Regions from separate parts of the Homo sapiens genome. Here region 1 is linked to region 2. The links are contacts of gene promoters, found by promoter capture Hi-C in human tissues and cell types (Jung and others, 2019). All regions are on one chromosome and are shown on one strand. The core of a region is centred on a gene start or on the middle of the fragment in contact, and the rest is flanking DNA. Distances in the headings are between cores, read along the strand shown.

What was found. The method cuts DNA at HindIII sites, captures the fragments that hold promoters and counts their contacts. A contact is called where the count stands out against the background at its distance.
Region 1: a fragment that was not itself captured here is called in contact with the fragment with the promoter of PDE5A in region 2 in 1 of the 25 tissues and cell types used here (dorsolateral prefrontal cortex).

Annotation. Positions count from the first base shown.
Region 1 is chr4:121,079,552-121,086,158 of GRCh38, forward strand. NDNF-AS1 (NDNF antisense RNA 1) reads left to right here. Exons shown (of 3, transcript NR_187407.1): 3 at 572-2,188. Among named protein-coding and RNA genes, the nearest start is that of NDNF, 10 kb to the left of the region's middle. The HindIII fragment of the contact is 4,542 bases long and covers 1-4,298 here.
Region 2 is chr4:119,625,673-119,631,511 of GRCh38, forward strand. It overlaps PDE5A (phosphodiesterase 5A), which reads right to left and starts at 3,132. Exons shown (of 21, transcript NM_001083.4): 1 at 2,848-3,132. The coding sequence starts at 2,999. It overlaps LOC107986192 (a long non-coding RNA gene), which reads left to right and starts at 2,118. Exons shown (of 1, transcript NR_165235.1): 1 at 2,118-5,083. RefSeq lists silencers at 1,566-1,845, 3,066-3,465 and an enhancer at 1,976-2,025. The HindIII fragment of the contact is 10,592 bases long and covers 1-5,839 here.

The DNA of each region.
Region 1 (6,607 bases), core at 778-3,277, 1.5 Mb after region 2:
TGCCAGTGATATCATACAGCCTTAAGGCCACACAGACATAAAGCCTGGTTATTTTTTTAAATGTTTTGAAGCTGAATGGCATCAGATGTAGTGGAAAGAACACAGACATCGGAGCCAGAGGTCTTGGGTACAGTTTCCTGCACTGACATTTAATAACTTTGTGACTGTGTGAACTTGGAAAGTTATTTAATCTTTCTGAAGTTCAGTTTCCTCATCTGTAAAATGGGGATAATAAAATTTCTCTGATAAGGTTATTGTTAGGGTTAAACTATTTTTAATATGTAAAGCATGTGATATATAATAGGCACTAAACAATTGCCTATATAATAATCACCAATTTTTACTCCCTGGATTCAATTTCTGTTCAAATAAAACATTGCTTCTCCCTAATCAGAAAACCGTACTTTGTAAGTGAAAAAATAAAACAAAAGGAATCACTTAGACCTTGCTTGTTAGGATGGCCAAAATGATTAATTTCAGGTTTGACAAAATGTAACAAATCAAAAACTCTTTCCTTTACAAATTTATTCCAAAAACAACCAGTGAAAAAGACATTATTTGCATTTCACAGATGAGAAAACGGAGGTTTATGGCCATCAGTGGCTGAGCAGGGATCGGAGTCTCATTCTGTCAAACTCTAAAGCCTGCGTTCTGAACCAACTCAAGCTGCCCCAGGATATTCCTTGGAGCCTCTATCAACTAATTTCACAGATTCTTTTTTTTTCCTTTTTGCTGCTGTCATGTTAATGGGCATTATTTAAAAAGGGATCTTACCACAGAATTTGATTTGGTGTCTCCTTGTTGACACCATATAAGAGCAAATCTAACCACATGTAGTGTTTTCACAAAAGTGTACCTATCCATCAATTCTAGCCACAAACCTCTAAGGTCAGAAATCTCAAAGATTAAGCCAGAGGGAGGTGGAATAGTCCAAACTGGTTTAGCTGCTTGAGTCTTCTCTTTTATTTGAAAATCACTTAAACTCTGTCATTGACACAGTATGAGTCCTTTCCTAAAGACATTTTAAAAACTAACTTCTCTATGAAAAGCAGTGAATAGGAGGGCTGACACAATTTTTAAAACTCTCAACATGTGCAGCTCATAAAAAGTAGGCATATGATTATATATACCTTTGATTCAACCAGTTTCTATTACAAGTAACCTGTGAACCCTAGAACTTAGTTATTTTTTTTTTTAAAAAAAAGGAGGGGAATCTCCACCTTAACCTTTTGGCCATTTAATCACTTATTTATTGAGTGGTTTCTAAGTGCCTGCTGTTGTCGCTCACTGCTTATTAGTCCTTGTGAGAGCAATCTTCAGTAGGAATTATTAGAATTCCCATTTTGGAGATGATGCTACTGAGGCTGTCAGAACTTGTCATATTTCTAGCCAAGAAATTTGAACCCAGGCAGTGCTTTCAGCTATTATACTCGCTCCTCCCCTTTTGAAATGGATTCAAGGTAGTCACTCACAAATGTGGAGAATAAACTGAAGAAAGAAATAATAAGCCAAGTCCAGTCATCTTAACAACCATTTTTAACTGTTTCCTAGTAGTTTGGCATATAAAAAAATTTCCCTCGAGAAAATAAAACTTTAGTAGAATAGCATTATTTTAAAATTATGTTAAGCTTTTCAGTGTGTGTTATCAGACTCAAATGTATTAAATTCCTTATTGGATTAGACCAGTTAACACTGGATTTTGTCACATTTCTACTTTTGAATACCACATCTAGGAAAGAAATGTGTTAATATTTACTTCATTGTGCCAAATCAGATTCTATTGTAAAACTAGATCAAAAATGAATCACTACACTATAAAATGCAAAAATCTGTACGTGGATTGTAAAGAGAAACAGGGACTGTTCTCATTTTCTGGCGCAACTTCTCAACCCTCATTATGCTCTGTTGTAGAAAAAATGCATTATTTCCGGTCATTTAAAAGAAGTAGGGCCATTTTTTCTAGAAAATAAATGGTAATTGAATCACTGAAATGATTTTGGGAAAACAGTTTCCATACCAATAGTGTCTAATGTAACTCTGAAAACTCTTGGTGTTATAAAGGAAAAATTTGAATTTTTCTAATGTAAGCTTAAATGTACCCAGTCGAAATCCTCTCCATTCCTTCCATGTAATCCTTCAATGTTTTCTTGTCCAAAAAGTATAACCAAACATAGAGCCTTGAATATTTCTCTTTTGTCTCCATAGCATTTTATCCATAGCTCTCTCTATTTCTAAGACCATAATTTCTATTAATGTGATAATCATAGTGGTATTCTGTCACTTTCAATCGCCTAGCTGAAACTACTCAGTGAAACTCTGAGGGAATTCCTATTTTGAAGAAACTGCAAATTTAGAGGGTGGACTTTTTTTTTTTTTTTTTTTTTTTTGCAATTAGAAGAAGAGAATAACATAATGAAAATTCAAATAGGCTTGAAACTCAAAGGTCATTTGAAACACTAAACTCAAAAGAACTCATTTGTACATCTGTCAAAACATGAGAAAATCACTCTGATTTTGAAAGGACTTTTCAAAGACCTTATCTATGTGGGAAATTGCACACTGACCTGTAAGGAATATGTAATTTGTGTTAAACAGAGTCTCATTCAAAGACTAAGGATAATCTTATATCCAATCAATTTTAGACCAGAATTTTTGTAACTTATTTTGAGTAAGAATGTTCTTAAGGGAATCAGTCACACAAATCAAGTGGGACTCAAATGCCAAAAGAACTTCAAAAGCACTAGAAGTGTCTGGCTCCCTTTATCTTTACATCAGCAACACATTTACAAACCTTCTATTTGCTTCTCCTCTGGATTTCAAGGTAAGTGCAACAGGTCACAATGTAGAAGAAACACAATAAAATGAAGGATAAAGGCATTGAGTAAGAGGAGAAAAAGGAGAGAAAAGAGTGAAGAGAAAAGGAGACAGTGGTTAGGGCTTAAAATAGTGGTGGGATAATAATGACAGGTAAAATCATGAGGGTTAAGGATAATTAGTAAAGAGCATGGAGGCAGAGCATGCAAGAGATGAAGAAGGCAAGAAAATAATGAGAAGCAGTGTAAATGCACTAGAAGAGTTGAGAAATCTAAGGGAAAAAAGGGACAATATGTTACTCTGCACTAAAACTAGAAGTAATGCCAGAAAAGTGGGCTACATAGGGTACGAATTATAGAAAAATGGGAAAGGCTGAAGATGAAAGAGAAGTTCCCAGAGCAGTGAGATGAAAATGTTTTGCAATTTTCTACCACAATACATATTTAACATAAAAAAGCCACAACTTGTGTGATGAGAAAATATGAATAGAATGGAGAAGCACAATAATATTGATGGGGGGTAAGAGTAGCATATTTCCAAAATTACCATCTTGCTACTAGTTAGTTAGGAAAGCTTTAAAAAGCTGCTTGATTTTTTTCACTGGCAACAGAAAGCTGAAGCAGGGTGGATCTTAAAGTTAGAGGGATCCTTTTGGTGAAAGGAAATAAAGTGAATTGGATAGTGTATTTGTACCAAGTGAGACTTGAACCAATTTGCCTTAAAGCAGGATTCCCCAAAAGTTTTCTGTGTTTGAACACAGCCTCTACTATTACTCAGTTTAAGCTGTAGATCTTCTTTTAACTAAATAGCTTATTTAAAATTAACAACTTAAATAGTAATATCTGTTTTATGTGTGGGTTACATTTTTTTACCTCATACATATTATACAAAATATTTGCTATAGAACCACCTAAAATAATATCTAATTCTCTTCTTGTTTTGCATGCATGGGAAGTGTGATATTCCTAGGCTAATATGGAAGGCAGGAGGGATCTTGTCTTATCCTTCACAGTAGAGGGAAGCCCTGAAAGATTCTAAGGAGGGAAGAAATACAGTAGAGGAACGGGCAGTGTTTCCCAAGGCCTGCAATGGGGTAGGGCTGGAGAAGGGGGTGCAGAGATGAGGAAATGGTCTCTTGAGGCCTGGTATGGAGGCTGAGCACTGTCACTTCTGTCTCGTTTTATTGGTCTCACAAAGCAACTCACAAGCCTGGTTCAGATTCAAGAGGTGAGGAATCAGTCTCCACCCCTGATGAAAGGAACTGCAAAGAATTTGTGGCCATTTTTAACCCACCACAGCTCTATAATTACATGTTCAAAAGCTCAACAGACAGTCATTGACATAATTCAAAAGAGGTGATGTTAATTTGGAATGCCCCCAATTTCATGTACTTTTGAAGATATAATATGTGTAGAACTGAGCTTTACAGAATTAGGTCAGATAGAAAAGGAAGAAATCTACAGTTTTACTTTAATTCTTCCTTTCATTTCTCTTAGACCCTAACATAGGTATACACATTCACAGAAACACAAACAGCTACTGGGCTAGTGTGGGTTTCTTGTACTATCTTTGTTCATGTGAACTAGAACATTTTTATAATATGAATGAGAAGAACCAAATTAAAGGCCATCTTAATTTATTTTAACCTAAAGAAAACACACAATTTCTTGGTTTTGTATGGCATCTCTCAATGGGTGAAACGACTAATTCAAGCATCTGAACAGAAAAAAAATTCATTTAGGATAGCAGAATAGTTCCATTTTAGAGTGGAGATGGAGAAATGATTTATATTCCACTTAATTAATTCTTCATAAAAGTAATATGACAGTGTTTTGTTTAACTCTTCTAGCATATTGTTGTTCCCTCAAAAGTATACAAGACAATAATGTCAACATTCCATTAACCAATGTTTTAAGAAATGGGAAAGTTCACAGGTCTCTCTAAAACAACGTAGAACTTTTCATTTTTTTGTCTCATTGCTAGGGTTCAGGTTTTTTTTTTCTGTTTGTTCACCTGTTTTTTCAAAATCTGAACATGTATGAGGTTCCCTTTTGAATTTTATGTAACATTTTGTGCCCAGGGTTAAGCTATTTTCACTTAATTTTTAATGCGCTTCTCCCTACCCTGCTTTGTGGTGTTGGGGATAAACTCTACAAAACACATTTCTGTTTTGCCAGCTGCTCCTGTTAGGCTCTGCCAGTCAGCGATTATGGAGGGAGAATGCAAAGGTGGAGGAGAGACAAATAATGCATTTCTTCCTCAGTGCTTCCTAGTTTATTCCTACTTCTGTTTTTGCATCCTCTTCCTGTCTCCCTCAATGTAGCTATAGTTATTTACTTGGCAGTGGCAGTATTTTGTAGAAGCGGCTGTTGACTCCAGTTCACAGTTTTCCCAAGCTTTAGAACTAGCTTCATCACAGTCCCTCAGAGACGTCGGTGCCAATTTACCAGTGCCCTGTCCTCGAGGTAGAAGTTTGTTTTGCAGCTCGAAGGCAGTAACACTAGCCTACTCAGGGCCTCTTCCTCAGATACCAGTTTCAGCTCCACAGAGCCCGTCCATGGTTCTAACTCTAAGTTTCTAGGTTTTGACAATTCCACCTCTTCCCTTTGTGCTCCAGGACAGGGATTGTAATTGCTTTCTCAGTTGCTACCTCTGTTCCCATTTGCTTTTAGTTTTTGATAATTGGTTATATAAAACTCTCTCTGTTTAGATAACAGATATGGTTTCTCTCTTCTTTTATACAGGAAACAAAATACATATTGTTTCCTGTATAAAAGAAATTCAAATTTTTAGATTGGCTTTATTCTTATTGGTGAAATTTCATTCATAAAGTGACTAAAGATTCTACCAAACATTTAAAGAAGAATTAATGCCAATCCTTCTCAAAGTCTTCCAAAAAATTGAACAGGAGGTAACATTTCCAAATTCATTTTATGAGGCCAGCATTACTCTGATACCAAAGCCAGACAAAGGTACTGCCAGAAAAGTATAGGCTGATATTTTTGATGAACACAGATGTAAAAGCCCTCAGTAAAATTCAAGCAAAGCAAATTCAACAGCACAGGAAAAGGATTATAAACCATGATCAAATGGGAATTATCCCTGGGATGCAAGGATAGCTCAACATATACAAAGCAATAAATGTGATACAACACATTAACAGAATAAAGAATAAAAAACCATATGGTCATCTCAATAGATGTAGCAAAAGCATTTGATGAAATCCAACATCCTGTCATGATAAAATGCTCAACAAATTAGGTATTAGGAATGCACCTCAACAAAATAAAGGCCATTTATGACAAAGCTACAGCTAACATCATACTCAATGCTGAAAAACTGAAAACTTTTTCTCTAAGATAAGAAACAAGATAAGGATGCCTAGTCTAACCCTTTTATTTAACCTAGTACTGGAAATTCTAGCCACGGCCATTAGACAAGAAAAATAAATAAGTGGCATCTGAATTGGAAAGGAAAAAGTTAAACTGTCCCTGTTTGCAGATGGCTTGATCTCATATACAGAAAACCCTGAAGACTCCACCAAAAAACTCTTAGAGCTAATAAATTCAGTAAAGTTGCAGAATATGAAATCAACACACAACAATTGGTAGTGTTTTTATACTCTAACAATAAACTATCCATAAAAGAAATCAAGATAGCAATTCCATTTACAATAGCTACATTTAAAAAATATTTAGGAATAAATTTAACCAAGAAGGTGAAAGATCTGCACCCTGAATATTATAAAACATTCATTAAAAAATTGCAAAAGACACAATGGAAAGATAGTCCA
Region 2 (5,839 bases), core at 1,882-4,381:
TTACACTTACAAAGTGTAAAAAGAGGGGAAAAGCAAAGTAATGTGAGCTCCTACTTTTAAAAAAAAAAATCCTTAGCTGTAAAGTTAAAACGTATGCAATAAGTTTTTACCACAAAATGTGAACCACACTGGGGTTAGTGGTTTGCATTTTTATAATCAACAAATGTCCATCCTCTTATTCACATTTTAAGTCTCCTGTTAATGCCACCAAATATAAAACCAAATTGGAATATTGTTTCATGAAAGACCTCTGGCTACACACAAATTCTTAGGTTATATTCTTTACTCTGACAACTCTCAGCACTTTATTATAACTCTTAAAATTGAGGACCTGCACTATTAAATATTTTACACTTTCATTTTCCAACTTACACTCAACATAACCTCTTAAGAATATGTATACACACATACATATATATATCACAGAAAGTGTTCAGCCTGTTGCCAACATCAACTGTAATTTAAAAACTCTAACCGAAAATTTTTTAAAAGTTTTTTTAGAGCCTCAGATGATCTAAATTTTACAGTGAGCATGGTAAATTTGAGAAATAGGATTTTGATCCTATGCTGCTTGGGAGAAAAAGTAATGGGAAAAGAAATGTAACTCAGCTCTTTCCATTTATTTTCCATTAAAATGTTGCTACACTTTCAAAGTGTTGGTAGGTTCTGAAAATGCAGTGTTCCTATCTATGACTAGTCAAAAACGACCAACAAGCCATCCCTAGTTTACATCTTTAAAAGAAAAATAGGGAACGAAGAAAGGACATTTATGCTGATTTATTAAACAATAACTTTTTTTCTTTAAACTGTTTATAATCTGCCTAAAGAACAGGTCCAATACATACTTTTAAAAATCGGCCTGGTTCTCTGGCCCCCTGATCATTCTATGCGCTGTAATTCAAGGAGAGCAGAAGGCTGGGAATGCGCAGAGTGAAAGGAAAGTGGGTGCAGATGGCCTCAGAGGGGCAGGTGACCCCTGAAAACTGTTAGTCGACAGCAACCGATCATTCTAGACCTCCATGGCCTTAGTGTCTCACGCTAAACTCGCAAAAAAGTGCCCTTTCAGGGCTATCCTCTGGGCGCTCAAGATTTAGGATTTTGAAGGAAGAAGGTGAAAGCGGGGGAAGACGATTTTAAAAGAAGGGCTGGGTTATTAAATTGAAAAGATTAATCCCGGAGCCTTCCCCTCTGTCAAAAAACCCTGAAAGTGACTAAATTGACACCAACTCTGGATGTTCCTTAGGAAAAAAACAAAACAAAACAAAACAAAACAAGATTAAAAAGGGCCCAATTTAAGACCCTTATTAATACATCTGCAAGAGAGCAAAGAATAACAACAACAACAAAAGTTATACAGTCAATTTTCAATGATACATCGTCCCACTGGTGCCACCGGGGCGCCACCACCCAGCACCCGAGACCCGCCGCGCCCCCGGAAAAAGTGGGAAGGGACGTAGGGGGATGCTGAAGGAAGTACCTTGTTTTGTCTCCAAAGGGCAACATAGCAAACGTGGGAAGTTCGTTTTCGAACTCCGCCGATCCTGGACTCCAGGAGGCTCCGTAGGGGCAACAACGCGCGCAGGTGAGGTGAGGTGAGGTCGGCGACTCAGAACCAGCTCCCTCACGGCCCCGGCCTCCGCGCCGCCGCCCGTCGCCTCCCGCTCGCCCCGCGCTGCGCCGCCCCCTGGCGGGGAGCGACCGGCAGAGCCGCGGCCGCGCGCCGGCGAGTGGGACCCGGGCGTCGAACCCGGGCGGGCTCCTCGACCATCACTGCCGGGCGTGTGTCACCCTCCCGGCCAAGACGGCCAGCACCCGCTGCCCGACGGCCGCTGCCCAGAGCAGGCGGCAGCGGGGCACGGACTCTTTCTGCAAAGGGGCGCGTCCTGGAGTCCACGCACCCCGACTATGCATCAATTCCTCAGGCTTCGGGGCACCCGCCCGCCAAGCACTCTCTGCTCCACTCTTCTTGTCCCTCTGCTCCCAGTCTCAATTCCTCCCCAACTCTCCCGCGAGCGTTTCCCACGAGCGCCCCGACTGCCCGCTGCGCAGCCGCCTCCAAAAGGACAGGCTCCCTCCTCCCCGCCCTCCGCAAGGGCCGCCCCGGCGCTTGGCTCTGGACCAGAAAGAGCTGGCCTCTGGGGTCTGCGCTGCCCCTTGGGGTCCGCTCCAGGCGGCGCCTCCCCTGCGCCCTTTGTGTGCACGCCGCAAACCCCTCTGCAGAGCTCTACTTTTGGCGGCACAGCCTTCGGCGGAAAAGCGAGTGAAAGGAGGCGCGCGGGACAAGCAGGAGACTGGAAGGGGGGAAAAGGCAACCGCACTCACTTTGGCAAGGTTCCGTCATGTTGCCTTTGGGCTGTCCCGTGGACTCGTCCCTCACCCCAGCTTCCCCGCCCAGCCAGGGCCAGGGCGAGGGGGGACGGGGGAGGAGCGGAGCCATCAAGACCGACTTGGAAATGGTGCTTCCGGAGCTGCAGGGAAGGGGCTCAGAAACTGTTTGGGTTTTGCTGATTGGATTTTGGGGAACCAGAGGGCTAGAGAGGGGCTAGGGGAAGGCCCGTGAGCACGGATGTATGAAAATAATCATGTTCCCGGGGAATACCAAGAGGGTCGGGGGTGAGGGTGGGAGGTCGGCAAGTACATTTTTGTATTTGAACTTTGTGAGCAAGTTGTATCAAATCCGACACTTGAGTTTTTCGACTGTGCTCGCTTAGAGTTGAGGTTTCTACCTCGTAACAGGACCGAGGACCTACTTCAAAAGCAAAGGGCCTGGGAACAGGGGTGAACGAAGGGCACAATTCAACAGGGGAGAGAAATCAGCCCCGGGTCTTCCGTGGGTCCTCTTCTTACCTGGTGGCTTTTCTAACAAAGTATGAGAAGGTAAAGTCCCAGTGATCGTCCAGCCATGCTTCGACCGAGTCCTGATCCCTCTGCTGCTGCTTCTGCTGCTGGGGCTGCTGCTGCTGTCGCTGCTGCCCGAAGCTGGGGCCGGCCCGCTCCATGGTTGGCACCGCGCGCCTCGGAGGCTCTCTGGTACTGCTTTTCCACCCCAGCTGGGGTCCGTCCCTCAGAAGAACAGGACTCGGCCTCGAGACCCTCCCCCTTCGTCCTGCTCCAGTCGGGCCGGCTTTCGACAAAGCGGCCGGAGCGCCAGGCCAGCCTCCTGCCCCGCCCCGCCCCGCGCGGTTCTACGGGCGCCCAGGTGTGGTGGGCGGGGCCAGGCGCAGCTGCTGCGCCCCCCCCACCCGGGGTCCGGCAGTGTTCCGCTCTCGCAGGCTCTTCAGTCCCCTGGTTCCCAGGAGGCGGCGGCGGCGGCGGCAGCGGCAGCGCCCGGCGAGCTCTCCGGAAGCCAAGTGGCGGCGGCTGGAAGGAGGCCGCGCGGCCGCTGGGGTGCGCTGTGTGCCAAGCCGACTTCTGGGGAGCGCGCTAGGTGACTGGGTGTGTTCTCAGAGTGCCCCAGGGAGGGAAGGTCGCGATGTGGGAAGTTTTGCCCGAAAGTAAGAGATGATGAGACCCTGGGCCCTTTTCCTGGGGCCTGGGAGTGCAATGACCTTCCCGCCTAGCTTTTCCCTAGCCCTACGCTTGGGTCTGGGAGGAGCGGGACCGACCTCCTTCAGAGCCCAGCCCGCTCAGTGACTTAAAGCGGTCCAGCCACGGACCACTGCGGGTGGAGAGAGCTGGGGCGTGTGCTAGCAAGAGAGATTTGCAGGTGTAGGTGGGTAACTTGCAACAAAGCCATACCCGTGCTTAATGTTAATGATAACAGCAATAATTATAACTTAAGTGCCTTTAACCATTGCCTCAAACTTCCCTTATGCATAACTGGAAAAAGATTTACTTGGAAAAGAAAAAGCAAACAAATAATTTCCAATGCTTTGTGCATGAAGTTAGAAAACAAGGGCACCTCTGTACAATTAGGTTAATCCGAGAGCACTGGCGCAACCCAGGTGCAGTCGAGGGCAACCAGTTATCCCAATTTTAAATTAATGCATCATTTTAATTAAATTGGAATTAACACTCCCTCAAAAGTATCCATTAAAAATGGCTCAGCCTTTTTGTCCAATCCCTATCTTGCTTCTTTAAAAAAGGAATTGGTGTCATCCTTTGCTTTGTCTGCATCCCCATCTTCCTGTCATGCATTGGCAGTTTTAATATGGCATTTTGCAATGACCTATATTTTTTGGTAGAATTAAATCTGGAATTATGGGTTGCACAATGTGTGAATGACACCATTAGCAGTGATATAAAAAAAAATGAGTTAGCTGATATACTTCTGACAACTTCCTTCTAAATACTCTTGGCAAGAATTTAAGGCATTATTCACTACATAGAAACACATCATTAAATTGATAATCTGAGAACTTTTAAAAGTATCTTCTAGTCCCCCAATGCAATGGTTTATCTTTCCTTCATTGAGTAATTGACCTTTTGCGACTTCAGTTTTTCTGAAACTTTACTGCTGTATGCAGGTAGCCACAACCAAAGAAAAGCAATCAAAGCAGTAGAGTATGAACTAATGGGTGATAAATTATATTGGATTTAGAAATGAGAATTCTCTCCTAATGTGTTACTATGATAGTGATTATAGTGCTCATGGAATACAGTCATGCGTCACCGAACAACAGGATACATTCTGAGAAATGTATCCTTAGGCAATTTCATCCTTCTCTGAACATCACAGTGTACTAACACAAAATAGATGGCTCAGCCTACTACACACTTAGGCTATTGCTCCTAGACCACAAATCTATACAGCATATTACTGTACTGAATACTGTAGGCAATTGTAATGCAATGATATTTGTGTGTCTAAACATATCTAAACATAGAAAAGGTACAGTAAAAATATAGTATTATCTTATGGGACTCATATATGTGGTCTGTCGTTGACTGAAAAGTGGCACATTACTGTGGAAAGTTTCTCCTCAGTACAGTTTTTTCTTGTGGAAATCCATGCATTCCTCCTAACAGGAGATCAATCGTAATTTAAAACTCTGCTTATCTACTAAAGATGCAGTGAATTTGGGGCTTGAATTATTTGCTTTTGTTGGATACTTGATTAAATAAACACGTATAATCATTTCAATGTTTGTATTCCCTCCAAAATTCATGTTGAAACTTAATCCCTAATTCAACAGTATTAAGAGGAGGTGCCTTTAAGTGGTGATTAGACCATTAGGGCTCTGCCTTTGTGAATGCATTAGTGCCTTTTTAAAAAAAGGCCCAAAGGAGACAGTTGGCCCCTTCTATTCTTTCCACTATGTGAAGACACAGCACTGACCCTTGCTGAGGATGCAGCAACAAGGTGCCATTTTGTAAGCAAAGAGCAGCCCTCACCAGTTGCCAAATCTGCTGGCACTTTGATTTTGGAGTTTCCAGCCTCCAGAACTGAGAGAAATTAATTTCTATTGTTTATAAATATCCCAGTCTGTGATATTTTATTACAGCAACACAAATGGACTAAGACAGTGGGTAATATCAAAATGTTCATTTTTCTCTCCTAACCTGAAAGGGTTAAATTATCAGAAACCAGGAAGGTTTCTGAAAAATTGCTTCAAGAAAAACAATCTATAGGCTGGGCACAGTGGCTCATTCCTGTAATCTCAGAACTTTGGGAGGGAGAGGTAGAAGGATACTTGAGCTCAGGAGTTTGAACCAGCCTGGGCCACATGGCATGACCCCATCTCTACACAAAATTTTTAAAAATTAGCCAGGCATGGGGGAACACACCTGTAATCCTAGTTATTCGAGAGGCTGAGGCAAGAGGATTGAGCCCAGGAGGTCAAGGCTGCAGTGAGCCATGATCGTGCCATTGCACTTCAGCCTCAGTGACAGTGTAAGA